Regions from separate parts of the Homo sapiens genome. Here region 1 is linked to region 2. The links are contacts of gene promoters, found by promoter capture Hi-C in human tissues and cell types (Jung and others, 2019). All regions are on one chromosome and are shown on one strand. The core of a region is centred on a gene start or on the middle of the fragment in contact, and the rest is flanking DNA. Distances in the headings are between cores, read along the strand shown.

The links. Contacts are between HindIII fragments. The study calls those that stand out against the background at their distance.
Region 1: a fragment that was not itself captured here is called in contact with the fragment with the promoter of FUT9 in region 2 in 1 of the 25 tissues and cell types used here (dorsolateral prefrontal cortex).

What each region holds. Positions count from the first base shown.
Region 1 is chr6:96,071,455-96,074,154 of GRCh38, forward strand. The region is part of intron 1 of FUT9 (fucosyltransferase 9); the gene reads left to right. Among named protein-coding and RNA genes, the nearest start is that of FUT9, 57 kb to the left of the region's middle. The HindIII fragment of the contact is 7,127 bases long and covers 1-2,700 here.
Region 2 is chr6:96,014,572-96,017,271 of GRCh38, forward strand. FUT9 (fucosyltransferase 9) reads left to right here and starts at 1,403. Exons shown (of 3, transcript NM_006581.4): 1 at 1,403-1,641. It overlaps LOC107986626 (a long non-coding RNA gene), which reads right to left and starts at 862. Exons shown (of 3, transcript XR_001744263.2): 1 at 716-862. The HindIII fragment of the contact is 1,974 bases long and covers 150-2,123 here.

The sequences.
Region 1 (2,700 bases), core at 125-2,624, 57 kb after region 2:
ACTATTAATTTTCTGCCTCTATTATTCATTCTGATTAATGATCACAGATAAAATAATTCTGGAAGTAAAAAAATTGGTTTGCCCATGGCAAATCAATTATTTTAAAAATGAAGCTTAAATGTCGTTTTAGTGAAGAGTATAAAGAGCAATGGGCTGCAAATCTGAATACCTGGAAGCTATGGCAGTTTAACCATTACTACATCAACAAAGGAGCAAGACTCACGGCATTTTTAAAAATTGTCACTAAGATCTCTTCTATCCCTAAACATCTATGACCAAAATTTTAACAACAGCCAATCAATAATTATATAAATGATAATAGTTAATATTTAAAATTAAAATTTAAGTTTTTTTTTCTTTTGTAGAGACAGGGTTCCACTATGTTACCCAGGCTGGTCTCAAACTCCTGGGCTCAAGCAATGCTCTCATCTCAGCTTCCCAAAGTACTTGGATTATAGGCGTGAGCCACCACACCCAGCCCAATAATAGTTAATTTTATTTATTGTGACTATTAAACTAGATGTGGTGCAAAATGCTCTCTATGAATTATTCTTTTTAATACTTGCAATGACTTCATGAAATACATTCTATAGGCTGGGTTCCTAGGCAATATAGTAAGACCTTATCTCTATTTAAGAAGAAAAGAAAAGAAATAGGTTCTATTATAGACTCCATTTCTTAATGAGAAACTAGGGGTTTAGAGATGTTAATTAACTTGCTGAGGTCATATAGCTGCAAGTAGCAGAGTCAAGATTCAAACCCAATTGACTATAAATCCCAGACTCAGAACCACTACACTACCCTCTCTCCATATCTCTTATCTTATTTCGTACCACCTTATTTCTAAGCAGTCAGAGCATAGGAATGACTGATTATAAATATGGAAAATGTGCATTAAAAACACTAATGATGTAAAAAATTGTATCTTTCTCCTATTATTCTCTGCATCACTTTGTAGATTGCATCACAAATATATCTTTGTCAAATACACTGAAAGAGCATTTTTTTCCTCTCTATATACTCACTTGTCGGAATCTTTAAAAACAAAACAAGGGAGAGGATCATGTTTAAAATTACTATTCCATAAAATTACTAGTCCATAATGATGTCCACAATTCACTAAGCTTGGCACGTACCTCTATGGGGTATGCACATGGTTATTTTTATAATGCCTTTGTGTTCCATGAATTTTTGCCTTATTCAGATAGAAAAAGGCAACTTTTTTTTCTATCTGAATAATGAAGTTCACTGGTTAATTCATTAGTGAAAGAAGATTTTTTAAAGTTTGTCATTTTGTGCTATATTTTAACTGAAGTACTTTGATGTTAATAAAAATTGCACAAACATAGCTATGTAAAGTTTATAGTTACTCTAAGCATGAGTAAATGTGGCTAATGGATACTTTCTAGTATATTGAGCAGATAGTAATTATGCACCATACATAAAGCCTTATTTGACAGGCATATGTCAGAGCCAGCATATGTAGGGCACTGGAGTTACAGAGAAGAAGCAGACACTCCTCCTACCTTTAGGAGTCTTTCCATCTAGCTGGAGAGATACACATGAACAAACAATCAGAAAACAGAACAAATGCTCTGACTTGCAATGTGAGCACAGGGAACACCACGTTATTTCTACCTGGATATAGTGGGAGGATGGAAATCAGATGTCTCACAGAGAAGAAGAGATTTGAACTGTCATTAGAAGAAACATTGGCCAGGTGTGGTGGCTCATGCCCGTAATCTCAGCACTTTGGGGGGCCAAGACAGGTGGATCACAAGGTCAGGTGTTTGAGACCAGCCTGGTCAATATGGTGAAACCTCATCTCTACTAAAAATACAAAAATTAGCCAGGCGTGGTGACACACCCCTGTAGTCCCAGCTACTCGGGAGGCTGAGGCAGAATAGTCGCTTGAACCCAGGAGGCTGAGGTTGCAGTGAGCTGAGATTATGCCACTGCACTCCAGCTTGGGAGACAGAGTGAGACTCCGTCTCAAAAAAAAAAAAAAAAAGCATTGAAAAGATAAAGGATGGTATTACTGATAAACATGCAACGCAAGTAAAGGCCTAAAGGCCAGTGAGTGTGTAGTATTCAATAGGATATAGGATAAGCAGGTCTAAATATCAAGAGTGAGGTCAGGTTGAGAAATGGATTGAACATTATCAGTATCTTGCTATTAATTAAAATCTTTGCACAGCATGAGAAGCAGAGCTAGAAGAATAGAGGCTTGAAAGGGCGATGGGGAACAGAAACATTAAAGGCGCGAGATGCTAATGAGGGGCCCAAGATGGTGCTTTAACAAATTGTTTCCCTCCTTATAAATTGTTCTATATCCAGTGCTGCCTCTCATTAGCTGTGTAACCTTGTACAACCCTCATCCTGACACAACATCTGTCATCTGTGGAATGAAGAAAGACTCATTCATTCATTCCCAACTTGAATCCCCACAGGTAGTAATGGAGTTTTCAAACTAAACTAAAATTCCATTTAGATTTTCAGTATTACAAAATAACAGTATAACTACGGCTTGTTTACTGATTTAAAATCTTTTAAAATTTAGGGCCTGCAATTAAAATAATAAAAAATATCTACTAGTGAGAAGGTTGCAAACCATTAGCCCAGATGATTCCAGTTCTAAAAACCTGTTATTTTATTATCTCACCGAATATTAGCAGTAGTTGGTTTTTAACATAAAATTTG
Region 2 (2,700 bases), core at 153-2,652:
TACCTTATTTATTCTAGAGACTATGATCCTTTAGGCTTTTAAAAAAACGAATCCACCAACTGAAAGATTACTTCATTTTTTTTTAAAGCAACACAACCAGCCAGCCAAACAAAATCAGAATCTCTTTCCCTCCTGGGAATGTCTGGGAATAATTAGCTCACTTTATGTGTTATGTTATTTGAGGAGAGTTTTACCAGACTTTTTTTTCTAGTCATATCTTTTAGACACATAATCTACTTGCTCCCTGTCTATCCCCAATTACCACGTGAAAATTATAAAATAAAATTACGGCTCACAGAAATCAGTTAATAATGTTCCACTTGTTTTTATATTTACTGAATGTGTGTTAACTCACCCTCTGGATCTCGCGCGTGTATCTGCCCTCAGTACAGTATCTATTTGCATGCGCCTCTTTGTAGTTTGCGAATATACAGGATTGATTTAGAGTCAAGTAGAGGAAACGAAAATCCACACTACGAAAGCGGGACCAACCCTAGGAAAATGCAGGGGGAAATGAAAAGCTCTGTGATAAAGAGATTCAGAGATCTTTCAATCCCTAGGTTTTTAGAATGTTGAGAAAAGGGAGGAAGGAAGCCAAGACAGAAGGTAATGGGCTGTCACTATGCCCTTCACACTTACAACCTTCCTAGATCATTGAGAACACGGTCCGAGGCAATTGGGTTAAAACGATATATGTATAAATTTCTTTTTTTACCTCGTTAGCTGGTCAACCCCGGCGGTAAACAACCAAGGCCACCCCTGCCCAGGCAACAGCTCCAAGGGGCAGGCGATGGTTGCCGGCATTGAGCTCCCTGCTGGCGCCTTCTGGCGGGACAGCCAGTGCCAAAGAGCGCCCAGGGAAACAAACACCAATGGGGGACTATACAGATGTCATGGATGCACATGTAGGATCATAATCTGCCCAGAAAGAGGAGAGAAGGAGGGCGACAGGCTGCGGATCCTGGTCCAGGAGCCGCCGCAATGGAGCGGGCGGCAGTGTGCGCGCACAGGTGCCACAGGCCGGTGGCGGGGAGAGCTGTAGAGGCTGCCTCCCGGACTCAGCACTCGCACCAGCGCGCTGAAGCCGCGGCTGCTGCCAAGCTTGGGTAACCCCCAGCCTGAGCCACGAGAGGAAGAGCCCAAGGAAAGGGCGCGAAGGGGGAAGGAGGGTAGGGTAGAAGGAGGGCGGGGGAGAGACCCATCGCCTCATCTTACATTTCCCCTCCCAAGCTCATTTAGTGGGAACCTCTGCTGGGCTCCTGCGCGCCTCCCTCCCCACCCCCTCAACTCTGGGCGACCATCTCCCCCTCTTCCCTTGCTCACCCCCCACCCTTCCTGCTCTTCCGTCCCTCCCTACCGCGTGCCTCCTCCCCTCCCCCTCGCCTCCCTCCCCTCCAGCGGCAGTAGCTGTAGCAGCTTCAGCGAAGCCGGAGATGGGCAGAGAGCGCGCGCGGCGCAGCAGCTCCAGATTCACTGCTCTCCCCTGCAGCTCCCCGCGCCCCCGCCGCTGTCGCTGCCTCGGTGTCCCCCAGCCCCAGTCGCGCTCTTAGGACAGCGCCGCCACCGCCGCCTGGCCCTGCCTGCCTCCTGCGCCGCGCAGCCCTCGCGAGCGCCCCGGATGGCGCTTTACCCCTAGGACCGGTGAGTAGGCGGGAGAGTGCAGGGGGTCGGGCGTCAAAGCTTGGCGCGGAGAGAACATCTTTTGGTTTGGGAGGCACCCCAAACCAGCTGCTGTGATTCCCCGTCCTCCAGGCAGAGGGTCCAGGGAGGGTGTTGCTCTGTGGTCCCCAAGGGGATGTTTGATTTCAACTCCACCTGCTGGCAACCTGAACCCCTCTCCGTCTTGGGGACAGCTGCCTGCAGCTCGCAGTCCCGCCTCACCTTCCAGCCCCCAGGCTCCCACACTAGCAGCAGTAGATGGCCCCGACCCTCTGGTCACCCCAAACAGGGTCATCTCTACTGTTACTGTCCCTGCGTTCCCACCTTATGCCAGTGCACAAACGCCCCTATCTGCCACCCTTCACCCGATCTCGCGCTGACAAAGCCTTCTCCACAAAGTCCTCCCTGACCCACCTTCTCTCCTTTCCCAAAGCCTGGCTCTCGAGCCCGACTGTCCCGTCCTATTCCTTCCCAGGGTGAATGGTCCTTAGTGAATTCTGACCTCATTCCCTCTACACAATGGTGCCTGTCCAGATTTTCTGACAGTCACCTCAGGAAATTGACACAGACACGCTGTGATCCTGGTTTCTGTACAGTTACTTTGTGTGTTACTCAGCACCTGGGCTGTTAAGGGTATTATCAAGCGTGAAAAAATAAAGACAAAAACCAAACCCTTTGGAAACAAACTTTTTGTTATTGTTGTTTTAAAGCGCAGAACTATTTGCATTGCTTAGGTTTGTTCTGTTCATTGAGAGGCGTCTTAGCTGAGTACAGGAAATACACCTATTTTACCTGTTCCTGCGGAATTGGTCTTACTTCCAGGTTAAGAACGGAGGACTTGCCTAGGTGGTGAATCTCTTTCAGCAACAACACTATCAAAAGCTCAGCAACTCTTGAGGATAAGAAGCTTTTTCTTGAAGGAGATGAGAGTAGCACCAAACTTACCCTTTAAAATCTTCTTTGAAATTGCAATAAGCCAAAGCTCTTATTTTTCTTTAGGTGTAGTGGCTAAAAGAGCGATATAGGAGGATTAGAAAACAT